Linked DNA regions of Homo sapiens: region 1 is linked to region 2. Evidence: promoter capture Hi-C in 16 types of primary human blood cells and fetal thymus (Javierre and others, 2016). All regions are on one chromosome and are shown on one strand. Each heading gives the region's core, a stretch centred on a gene start or on the middle of the fragment in contact. The rest is flanking DNA. Distances are from core to core; before and after follow the strand shown.

Region 1 (6,149 bases), core at 3,600-6,099, 310 kb after region 2:
CAATTTAGGCAGACTAGAAGCCATAAAAGCCATACCAGCATGAGTTCACATGAGAATGAAACAGAGAAGTTAGAGACGATGAGTACAGACAATTCTTTTGAGGTGTAAAAGGAAGGACAAAAATGGAACATGAGCTGGAAGGCAGAATGGGGTCAAGGGTTTTGGTTGTGGTTGTGGTCTTGGTTTTGTTCAAACTAGGAGAAATAATAGTATGTTTGTATACTGATAGGAATGATCCACAAAGAGGCTGGATTTTATGAAGGACAGAGGGAGAGGACAATTGCTGAAGCAATGTTATTTTAGGAGGTGAGAGAGGATGAGATCTGTTCCACTGTGGAGGGGTTGCACTCTGAGAAAAGTTACTTTCATCCATAGAAGACCAAGCACTTGAGGTCAGCAGACCGAGGTGGATAGGTAGGTAGGTGTGTGGGTAGGGAGATTGTGGAAGTTCTCTTATTATTTCTAACCTCTCATTTCTATATAAATGGGGTAAAAGTATCACCTGAATAGGGTTTTGGGAGAATTAAGTAAGTTAATACATATAAACACATAGGAGGGTTATAGTGAATGTTAGCAACTATTAGATATTATTCCATGTTAGTCTGGGTGACCTAATTTGTTCTCATGGTTTCGGTGACCTCCTATCCTTAACCTTCACATTCAAAATCCAATTCCTGCTGGACGTATCTCAAAATCAACTCATTTAGAACCCAATTCACTTTGTTCCTCCTAGGGAAAATCTATCTCCTGCAAGCTTCTCTCTGTTAATGGCTCCTCCCACTACCTGGGCACATCAATAGGAACACCTGAGTTTTCTGGATCTCATCCTGTCCTTCATATTCACACCTAAGCCATATCAAGCGTGGCTCATTCTTCCTCCTCAACATTTTGGAAACCCCCTTCTCTCCTCCCCCACCCATCATCCCTACCACATTATCCTTTCAGATTCTCAGCATCTCTCTCTTCTGGACTTTGGCCTCCTAACTGGCTCCTTCTGTCAACATGACCCCCTCTTCTGTATGTACAGAATGGTCTGTCCAAAATGCAAGACACCGTGTCACTTTCTGTGTTCAGCCCTTCAGTGGCAGCCTAGAAGCTGCAAGAGTAAATGCAATCTAGACAGCATGGCGCTGGAGGTCTTCCATCTATATTTATAACTTTGCCTAGTTGTAGATCTCCTGTCCCCTCCAACCTTGTACTCAATATGCCAATTATACCAAGTGTTTACAGCTTCCTTGCACAGTCCTCCCCAAAGCTACATCCCCAAACTGTTTTGTTTTGAGACAGAGTCTAACTCTGTCACCCAGGCTGGAGTGAAGTAGCGTGATCACAGCTCGCTGCAGCCTTGACCTCCTGGGCACAAGAGATCATCCTACCTTAGCCTCTCAAGTAGCTGGAACCACAGTTGTGCACCACCACGCCCAGCTAATTTTTAAATTTTTTTAAGAGATGCAGTTTCTCTGTGTTGCCCAGGCTGGTCTCAAACTCCTGAGCTCAAGGAATCCTCCCACTTCAGCCTCCCAAAGTGCTGGGATTACAGGCAGGAGCCACTGTGCCCACCCTCTCAAATTGCTTAGTGCCTCCAAGCTAATGCTTAGTTGTCCTTTAACTCTTGGCTTAAGCACCATCTCCTCCGGGAACTCTTCCTGACCTCCAGCTTGAGCCAAGTGCCCTTCCTCAGGGCTCTCACAACATCACATCCAAAACCCAGCACATGAGGGCTCCATGACTTAGTTGATATGTATTAGATGAACTACATTTAATTGATTAAACCATGTTAGATGACATCTTGAAGTCCTTTCCAGTACTATGATATTACAACAGATATTTCTGTTTTGGTAACAATTTTATTGAGATATAATACGCATACCATGTAATTCACCCTTTTGAAGTATACAATGAAGACTGGCTTTTAGTATACTCACGGCGTTAGCTGTCACCACAACAATTTTAGAGCATTTCATTGCCCCCCTCCCCAAATGCTTCTACCATTTAGCAGTTTCTCCCTCGTTCTTCACAGTCTCTCCAGCCCTGTGCAGCCCTAATCTACTGTCTGTCTCTATGGAGTTGCTTCTCATGGACATTTCATATAAATAGAATCATATAATATATGGTCTTTTGTGTCTAGTTTATTTCACTTAGCATAATGTTTTCAAGATCCAGCTATCTCATAGCATATATCAGTACCTCATTTTTTTTTGCCAGAGAATATTCCATTGTATGGATACGCCACATTTTATTTATCTCTTCATCAGTTGATGGACTTTCAGGTGGTTTTCAATGTTTGGGTATTGCAAATAATGCTATTATGAATATTCTCATACAAGTTTTTATGTGAATATATGTTTCATTTCTCTTGTCTATATACCTAAGAGTAGAATTACTGGGTCATATTGAAATTCCGTGTTTAGGCCATGCGCGATGGCTCACACCTGTAATCCCAGCACTTCGGGAGGCCCAGGCGGGCGGATCGAGACCATCCTGGCTAACATGGTGAAACCCCGTCTCTCCTAAAAATACAACAAATTAGCTGGGCGTGGTAGTGGGCGCCGGTAGTCCCAGCTACTTGGGAGGCTGAGGCAGGAGAATGTCGTGAACCTGGGAGGTGAAGCTTGCAGTGAGCCGAGATAGCACTGCCGCACTCCAGCCTAGGTGACAGAGTGAGACTCCATCTTAAAAAAAAAAAAAAAAAAAAAGAAAGAAAGAAATTCCATGTTTAAACTTTTGAGGAACTGCCAGACTACAGCAGGTATATTTTTCTGTTACCCAAATGAAACTGTGGATACCTGAGTGAAACTTAAGTTGCTTTTTAAGACCAGGCCTCACTATGTTGCCCAGGCTGGTCTCACCACAACTCCTGGCCTTGATCCTCCCACCTCAGCCTCCCCGGTGGCTGAGACCACAGGCATGCGCCACCGCACCCAGCCCATTTTTCTTTACAGAAGGTTTGTGCTGCAGTTGGCTGGTGATCCTGGTAGGGATAACTTTTCAGGTTAGCTGGTCCTCTGAAGGGCCACCGTGCATAGCAAACCACTGCCCAGCTGATTGCAAAGAGCCCCTTTCAAAAGCAAGCCCATGCCCTTGGCACTTTAGGTGGGATTTGCTTCTAAATAAAGTCGTAGTCATTGTCCTCTTCATTCATCATCCATTCCCCAGCTACATCTTTAAAAATTAGTCTATTTATAAGAAATGTGGGCCATTATTTGTACTTTGTTCATAAAAAATATTTAAAGTGAAAATGAAAGATATTTCATGAGATTTGTTTTTGTCATTTTCTCAAATACTGTATATCTTTAAAATCTTTTCAACTAATAAAAATTAATATATTTAAAATAGAATGTGGTTCTCAAATTTATTTTGTCATCCAATTATATGATAAACCTACTGGCTATCATATGTTTGAATATTTATATATGTACAATAGCTACAGGTTGTACTTTATGACTTTTTTTGTTTTTTGTTTGTTTTGTTTTGTTTTGAGACACGGTCTTGCTGTGTTACGCAAGCTGGAGTGCAGTGGCATAATCATGGCTCATTGCAGCTGTGATCTCCAGGGCTCAAGTGATCCTCCCACCTCAGCCTCCCCAGTAGCCAGAACTACAAACGCACCACTGTGCCTGGTAAATTTTTTTTATTTTGATTTTTTTTTTTTTGTAGAGACAGTGTCTCACTATGTTGCCCAAACTGGTCTCAAACTCCTAATCTCAAGTGATCCTTCTGCCTTGGCCTCTCAAAGCTCTGGGATTGCAGGTATGAGCCACTGTGCCCAGCTTGTCTGGATGACTTTTATAAAACAAAATAACATCTAAGTCTCTAATTATACCCATATCAATATATCCTGCATAATCTTTCAAAAGTTTAGCCTCCACCAGGTCATTACCCTGTTCAAAGGCCTGCAGTGCCTCTGGGGTAAAGGACAGACTCTCTGAGGACAGACTCCCAGGCGTCCTCATGATCTGGCCCCTCTGCATCTCAGTCTTTTCTCCCTGTGCCACACCCTCCTGAACTGTTCTGGGCACCCTGTTCTACTCACCCTCACCTGAACACACCTTCCTGAGCCTCTGCCCCAAGAATGCTTCCCCCTCCTGTTATACAGTTATGATTCACCTTCCAAAGTCCAGGCCAATGCTAATCCCTTCTATGAAGCCTTCCTCCCTCCTCTGAGCATCTATAGCACTTATTTTTGCCATATGTTGTTGAAAGTGCATTTATAGATATGTTATCGTTTTCCAGTAAGTTATAAGTTCCTGGAGACAGGATGATACCACACCCTTTGCCCCATATCCATAGTTTTTACCCTACTGCTGGTCTGAAAAATTATGATTTTACTAAAATATAATTTCGATTTGTTGGAAGTTTAACAAAAGCTACGTTTTAGGTAGTATCTATCTATATGGTTTATTGTAAATAACATTTCCTTTTAATTCAGTAATTTCCCACGTTCATGTGGTTCAGTGCTTAGCTTTTGGACTTCTTATTGGATAGGTTAAATTTATAACCAATCTTTATTAAATGCCTCCTCTGGGCAAGGTATGGAAATATGATCATTCAGACAAGGCATTGACTCTTACGTCATTTGCCTTCTAGAAATCCAAAGTTTCACGATTATGTTATAAAGGCTGCTGTTCAAATCACTAGGACATGTAGACGTGGTGATAGTATAGATCAAACTAAGGAAGGGGGCTGGGCATGGTGGCTCACACCTGTAATCCCAGCACTTTGAAAGGCCGAAGCAGGTGGATCACCTGAGGTCAGGGGTTCAAGACGAGCCTGGCCAACACAGTGAAACCCCGTCTCTACTAAAAATATTTTAAAAATTAGCCTGGCATGGTGGACGGCGCCTGTAATCCCAGCTACTCCGGAGGCTGAGGCAGGAGAATTGCTTGAACCTGGGAGGTGGAGGTTGCAGTGAGCTGAGATCATGCCACTGCACTCCAGCCTGGGCACAGAGTGAGACTCTGTCTCAAAATAAAAATAAAAATACAAAAATTAGAGCCGAGCATGGTGGCTTGCACCTGCAATCCCAGCACTTTGGAAAGCCAAGGCGGGTGGATCACCTGAGGTCAGGAGTTCGAGATCAGACTGGCCAATATGGTGAAACCCCATCTCTACTAAAAATACAAAAATTAGCCAGGCGTGGTGGCACGCGCCTGTAGTCCCAGCTGCTCGGGAGGCTGAGGCATGAGAATCACTTGAACCCGGGAAGTGGAGGTTGCAGTGAACCAAGATCGAGACACTGCACTCCAGCCTGGGCGATAGAGCGAGACTCAGTCTCAAAAAAAAAAAAAAAAAAAAAAAATTAGCTGGGTTTGGTGGCTCGCGCTTGTAATCCCAGCTACTTGGTAGGCTGAGGCAGGAGAATGGCTTGAACATGGGAGGCGGAGGTTGCAGTGAGCGGAGATCACGCCATTGCACTCCAGCCTGGGCGACAGTGAGACTCTGTCTCAAAACAAACAAACAAAAAAACAAAACAAAAACTAGGGAATGGGACCTTGAGTTTCATGGACCCTTGGGTACAGCAGGTTAGCTCTGAGAAGTGGCAGAGAGGTAGACATTCTCTTCTCCCTTTTGCCCCTTTATGATCCTCTACACTGTGTTGCAATATTCCTCTGCTACTGTGTCCACACCTTCCATTTTCCAAAATATGTATTCTGTTTCCCTTCAGTTCAGCAGACATATATTAAGCACCCACTATTTCAAAGGCATAGTAGAAAGCACTGGTTTCCTGATTCATCAATTAATGCTACATATTATTATAACGTATAATATAGATGTATATAGTCTATAATAATATATGGATTTCTATATGTATATTTTTATAAGCAGAGTAGAGTAGCAACTTAGTGAGGTTCTAAAGTAAATATGTTACATGAACCCCAGAGAAAGTAAAAGTACTCTTAAGAAGTCCTGGCCGGGCGCAGTGGCTCACACCTGTAATCCCAGCACTTTGGAAGGCCGAGGCAGGCAGGCGGATCACCTGAGGTCAGGAGTTGAGACCAGCCTGGCAAACATGGTGAAACCCTGTCTCTACCAAAAAAAAATTACAAAAATTAGCCGGGCATGGTAGCGTGCGCCTGTAATCCCAGCTACTCAGGAGGCTGAGGCAGGAGAATCACCTGAACCCGGGAAGCAGAGGTTGCAGTGAGCCG
Region 2 (6,695 bases), core at 2,925-5,424:
AGTCCTAGCTACTTGGGAGGTTGAGGCAAGAAGATCACTTGAGCCCAGGAGTTGGCGGCTGCAGTGAGCCATGATAGTGCCACTGCATCCAGCCTAGGCCACAGAGAGAGACCCTGTCTCAAAAAAATAAATAAATAAAATAAAAAATGAAATGAAAAAATAAAGTAAATAAAATTTTAAAGCTGTATACCATTTGGCTTGGGGAAAAAAAGGAGTTGCAGTGACCTACAAAATAATATAGAGTGAGAAGTTGACTCAGTGCATTGATTACTCAATTCAACAAACATTAATTGAGCACTTGCTGTGTGCCAGGCATGGTAATAGGAGCTGGTAAAACAGAGGTAAAAAAAAAAAAAAACTCTTTGTGTCCACAGTCAATTGTTGTCTAGTAGGCAAAGCTAATATAGGAAGATAATTAATCAGAGTGCAACTAGTACAGTCAAAAGAGGGTATTGCAGGTGCAATGGTAACACAGAAAAAGGAATCTCCTTGGAGGAGGAGATACAGCAGCTCATGGAATGCAGGAAGCTGGAGCTGGAATGAAGTTTTCACAGTAAGAGAAAAGGAGAAAGGCATTCTAAGCTGAGAGAACAAGCTCTACAAGGGTATGCATTACCATGATACATTTGGGCAACTACAAGCAGGTGCTACCCCAGATCATAGGGTATTAGAAGGTAGCCAAACAGGAGTGAGGTTAGGGAGGCAGACCCAGCCACATAAGGGAAGAACCTTCTACGCCATGCCAAGGGCTCTACACTTAATTTCATAGACAATGACGATATAGATACTGCAAAAAGCATTAGCTAGGGACTGTCTTTCAAGTTAGCTCTGGGGATCACATGGCAATTAAGTGAAAGGGGAAAGAATGGGGAGACCTAAAAAATCACTAGGGCTGTGAACTTTGATATTGCACTTGACTGCTAGAATATTATGTGAGCCAGGACACTCTGATATGAGGAAAACCAATATGTAATATTTTTATCTTGCAAAGCTGATAATGCAGAGAATTAACAAGTTATGCATGTATAAACAGTAGACTCACAGTTAGGAAGCTGGCAAGTGTCTGTCACTTGAGTCCTGTAGTGTCATTTACCTGATTCACCTTTGGGCTTATCAATAGCATATACAGAGTCTTCATGATCACTGCCTGGGTCTGCTGGGTAGGAGGCGGGTTCACTGTGGAATAAATTAACCCCACAGACTCTAGATTTGCAATGAAGTCCCCCAGCTAGGTTTGTCATTTAAAAAGTGTTCTTCTACTCCTTGCCTGATATAACTATTTTCCCAAATCTAATCATTTCTTATTTTTCAAATCTATTCAAATCGTCAGCATTTATCTCTTCATCTTTTCTATAAATTTTGCCCTTTAAAGCCAATGGTTTTTAATAATAATAGCAAATGTTAATACTTCCATAGCACTTCCTATGCATCTGGCACTATTCTAAATGCTAAATGTATATTAAATGATTAAATTCTCATATCAACCCTATGAGATGAGTACTATTATTATCTTCATTTTTCAGAGGAGGAAACAGCAAGTTTCCCATGACATTAAATAGAAGCAGAGCCACTAATCAAATCCAAGCCATCTGGCTCTGGAGCTGATATTTTAATTCACAAATCTCAGTTTGTAAAGGTACTTAGTAGGAACAAGGGACCAGTGCATCAATTGTTGCCTTAAAGAAAACTTTTCTTGGATGTTCCTTTTCATAAACTTCAAAGTCCTGTAAGCTTTGCCCCTGCACCAAGTTGTAATGCTTTTGTATACACAGTTTGCATTGTTCCAACAACCTTAAGAAACATGTTTGGAAGTACAGTTCAGCCAGACTGAAAGATTACCCCTCTCAACTGCTTTTTGTTTTTGTTTTCGGCAGTTTAACCAAAACTCTCCATCTCACAAATAAAATCCTTCTGTAAGAGTTCTTCCAGGACATGAAACTTACTAAGAATTTGCAGCTCACTAAAATTTCTTCCTTTTAATACTCAAGATTGAAATAAAACCTTTTCTGCAAGGTCAGCAATAACAGATCTAATGTAAGTCCTTTATTGATTTTTAAAAAGTTGATTACATTAATCTTTTTACTTTTTATCTTGTCTTTAGGTCAAAAGTCACCAGTCCTTTTGTGAGAGGAAACTACTTCTCTTATTCTCTGAAGCTTTTAAAGAGAATATAAAAGTAACAAAGTCATTTTTTTAAAAATCAGCCTACCATATAAGGGTTTAGGATCTACTTACAGGTTGAAAGACCCTTGACCCTGCCCAATCTTAGATGTTTCCTATGTCATTTTTGGATTCTGAGCTTTATTTCCAGAAGTGATTAATTATTCAGAAAAAGAAATTAGCTGGCACTTAAATCTTTAAAGTTTTGAAACTTTTTTTTTTCAGACAGAGTTTCGCTCTTGTTGCCCAGGCCAGCGTGCAATGGCACGATCTCGGCTCACTGCAACCTCCGCCTCCCGGGTTCAAGCGATTCTCCTGCCTCAGCCTCCTGAGTAGCTGGGATTACAGGCACCTGCCCCCACGCCCGGCTAACTTTCTGTATTTTTAGTAGAGACGGGAGACGGGGTTTCACCACGTTGGCCAAGCTGGTCTCAAACTCCTGACCTCAGGTGATCCGCCCGCCTCGGCCTCCCAAAGTGCTGGGATTACAGGCGTGAGCCACCGCGCCCGGCCGAAACACTCTATGTGAGCAATTCTTAGAACTTTATGGACTTCTGATTCTGCATACACTCTATAGTAAAATACTTCCCACTTTTTTCCAAGACTTTTTCAAAAAATCAATGTGAATGACCCAAAGGTCAAAACTTTCAGATGAATTTTGTGAAAATTATCGCTAATGCTTCAAAGTGAGAGGATCAGGAAGGTGGGTGTAGAAGAATCTGTGTTTTTCTTCAAATGTTAATGGAGTGGTTTATTAGCACAGACCTTTTAAGCCAGGCCACGAAAAGGCAGCGGGATGTTTTCAAGTCCCCTTGGGCTGGCGAAGCGGGTACTTGCTGTACCTTATCAAGCACTGAACATTGAATACGTGTTGAAAACAGAGCAGATACGCAACCTTAGCAACCACTCACCTCTGCTATTTTAACAAAATGTTAAGCAAGCGAAAGAAAGAGAAAGAAAGACAGAAAGAAAGAAAGCAGATTAGCATACAAGGCAGGACATGCCACCTTTATATTCTGAGCTCTGTCCACAGTGAGCAGGCCGTGTCAAACATCGGGAGAGACAGAGAATGATTGATCATGCAAAGCAAACTGTAGGTTTGAATCCCAGCACGGCCATCTACGAGTTATAAAATCTTGCCAAACTACCTAATGTCTTGGTACATATACCTAGAAAACGAGAATGATCCCAACCTTTAAGATGAGAAGAGAACTGAATGGGAAAAGCGGGTGAGAACAGCTGACCCCAGCAGCCTCCCAGTAACCTAGTTTTCCCTTCCCATCTCCGTGTCTACGGTGTTTGGTGGCCTCATCAACTCCCGTCGCCTCCAGCAGCTCGTTCACTCAGTGAAGGTCCTAGACCGAATGGCCACCTTCCTGTATGTGGGTACTCATCACCCACCACCTTTCCGCTTTTCGGTGCTTTGCCCTTTTTATCTTATCTAGTAGCCAAAGCTGAGACTGTTGGGAGTCATTTCCAGCTCCGATGGTAGAGGAGTAGGGTTGAGGGGAAACGCCAAGGCGTGCTCCACGCCTGCCGTCCGCAGCCCCGTTGGGCTGTGGTACTCTTCTGACCAAAGTCTGGGTCACCGGGAAGCAAGAGGGAGCGCCACTAAAGGTATCTTTTGTGCCTTGTATTTAGCCACCGCATTGCCAGGATGGGAGTGGAGGCGGACGGTGCCCGACACCACGACTCAGGGAGCGATACCTGAGCTCGCTCGGCAATTCCCGGGCTCCGGGGACGGGCCTGGGCGGGGAAGGAGCCGGGGCGCGCAGCAGCACCCGGCGAGACTGCAGGGCGCCCGAGTGGTCGGACGGGGGAGCGAGAGCTAAAGCTTGCGGAGCGCGCCGAGCCGCGGGCGCTGGCGGCCCCGGCCGGGGAGCTGACGCGAGCCTGCCGGGCCGCGGGAGCTGCGGGAGGCGGAGGCCGAGCTGGGGGCGGAGCGGGCGGCGCCTGGGAGGCGGAGGCGGTGTCTCCCAGAGCTGCGCAGGCGTTGCTCGCACCTTGTTGATTAGTCAGTGCTGGGAGCGCTGCTATGGCGTTTCTCAGACCCGCGGCTCCTCCTCACACGCTCGAGGCGGAGGGAAGGAGGGGTAAGAGGAGGAGGAGGCGAGCGGGCGGCCGCCGCAGCTGCAGACCCAGGGCCAGAGGAGGAGGCGGAGCGGGAGCCGCCGCAGCCACCCGGGCCGCCGCCGCCGCCCGCAGCCGCGCGGCTGCTCTGAGTCTTCTCCGGGCGTGAGGGCACGCGGGGCGCCCCAGCCATGCCCCGCAGCGGCAGCTGAGCCGGGCGCCGGCCCCCTCCCTCCGGGCCGCCCCAGTCGCCGCGCCCCCCCGGCTGCCCGCGGCCGGAGCTGCCCGGCGCCTCCCGCGCGCCCCAGACCGCGAGCGCGAGCAGCGGCGGCCGCCGAGGCGCGGGTGGTGCCGGTGGCGGCGGCGGGGGAGCGCGGGACAGGAGGCTTCGGGGAAGATGGACCCGGCGCCCTCGCTGGGCTGCAGCCTCAAGGATGTGAAGTGGAGCTCGGTGGCCGTGCCGCTCGACCTCCTGGTCAGCACTTACCGGCTGCCCCAGATCGCGCGCCTGGACAACGGTGAGTCCCAGCTGGGGCGCGGGGCAGACGGGCGAGGACAGCCGTCTCCACGCGGGTGTGCGCGCGTGTGCTGGAGAGGGTGGGACCCGCGGGGAGTGGGCTGCCCGCCCCTGAGCGCCGGAGTTGGCCCGAGCGGCTGCCGCAGCCCTGGCGCGTTGCTCTCAACTCCCCCCAGCAGCAGACAAGGAGGTGGAAATCAGAGTCCTTGCAGTATAATTAAAAAGGACGCCCTAAAAAAAAAGTCAACATAGGGAGACCTCTGCAGATCGTAATCTTGGACGCCAGATATCCCTCCCCACCCTCCTGCAAGAATTACTCAACCAGGGAAACCCTGAAGAGTTATCTTAGGCAACTTTCTTGAGAATATCATTGTGCTCCGGGTGGCATCTTAATTTGGGTGCTCTCCTCCCTATCTCCCCCATCCCCCGCCAAACAGATTTAAAGGAAAAGCTCCTGGGTGACCATTGAAAAGGATCACATTTCTCAGAGACCTTGTATTACAGCTTGTCTGTTTTGTTTAACCCAACTGAAAGTAATTTGGGGCTGTGTGTAGAAAATGTTTTCAGCAGAAGTGATGGCATGCTTAAGGTTAACTATTAGGTTTAGCGCATTTCCAGTCTGGAAAAAAAAATAAGTCTCCAAAACGTATTGATTCGGAACCTGAGCTCAGAACTAAGAAGGGTGTATTTCCTGAAACTGACCACCAGAAACCCACCCAACTCCTTCCTCCAACTGTTTATTCTGCGGTGTGACAGCTGCAAACACATAGTTGCGCATACTGTCAAGCAAGTAGACACCTTTCAGTTGGAGAGTGATGACACGTAAGGTGGCAATTTAGGTGTGTTTGGTCTTCTCTTGTTTTCATCATAACTTCAGTGGGCTTTGGCGTCATGCGATTTTAGACTGTTTGCAGAAAGAAGCCTGCCCTGCTGTGGGGCAGCTGTGGAAGTACACGGGCCCAGGCTGGCAGGCAGGCAGAGCTGTGACTACACAGGCCAGGTCAGAAGAACACTAAGCAGAAAGATGTCATTTCGAGTCACAGGCACTAGGGTTACTCCTTGTTTCCTGGGGTAGAAGAGTGGGTAACGTGAGATGTATACATACACAAAGGAGTTTTTATTCTGTTTCTTATCTGTGGGGTTTGATTAGACATTTGTATATCTGATGTGAAAAATAGATGCAGGAAAGTTCGTGAAGGCTGGAAAACAATCTTGGCTTGCTTGCTATCCTCGTTTGATTGTTGGTAGTAGTAGGGTGCATTGGGAATAAGCTGGAAGTTTTAAAACTAGTAATGAAGTGCAGATCACAGTAGCTGTTGAAGCGGTGGGGTGGGGGCGGGGGGGGGGGACGCACAGGTGGTGTGTTGAGGCGTTTCTGCTTCGAGTGGGGGTGGGAAAATGTTGTGTGCTTTAAATAGCATCTGCAGACCTGAACTGGTGTGTGTGTTTGTATTCACAGCGTTTCATTTCCTCCTCCAAAATTGTGTATATTGGCAGATTGTGAGTCCTTACCTTTTCCTACCTTCTCTCATCTCTGCACACTGCCACATTTGCTAGCTAGGCAGAGAGCATTGCTGCATGTGGTGTAAAAGCCACTCAAAAGCTTCATTAAACTGAAAGTTTAAAGGGGTGGAATATCTCACTTTCCGACATGACTTTCAGTTTTATTTCCCACTTTTCTATCCCTGCCATTCATAAAAAGGATCTGAATCAGCAGTGTACTCATCCCACACTTCTTTCTAAAATGAGGACGTGGGTAGCAAGTCTTAACACTGTGTCCTTTCAAGCTGTGGAATGGATTTTGATCACTATATGTAATTCCAATTCTTCATTGTAAATTTCTCTTATTTCCTTATTGCCGCTTGAGAATCATAGTGGCACATACAAATTTGGAATCATTGCCAGATACTGCTTTATACCTTGCTTCTTTCACTTAACAATCCCATCT

What was found. The method cuts DNA at HindIII sites, captures the fragments that hold promoters and counts their contacts. A CHiCAGO score of 5 or more calls a contact.
Region 1: a contact is called between a fragment that was not itself captured here and the fragment with the promoter of GAREM1 in region 2, in 1 of 17 cell types (megakaryocytes). The highest score is 5.2, in megakaryocytes.

The regions. Positions count from the first base shown.
Region 1 is chr18:32,158,628-32,164,776 of GRCh38, reverse strand. No RefSeq gene overlaps it. Among named protein-coding and RNA genes, the nearest start is that of MEP1B, 28 kb to the left of the region's middle. The HindIII fragment of the contact is 4,472 bases long and covers 2,614-6,149 here.
Region 2 is chr18:32,468,361-32,475,055 of GRCh38, reverse strand. GAREM1 (GRB2 associated regulator of MAPK1 subtype 1) reads left to right here and starts at 4,174. Exons shown (of 6, transcript NM_001242409.2): 1 at 4,174-4,748. The coding sequence starts at 4,628. RefSeq lists a silencer at 3,900-4,419. The HindIII fragment of the contact is 2,356 bases long and covers 3,997-6,352 here.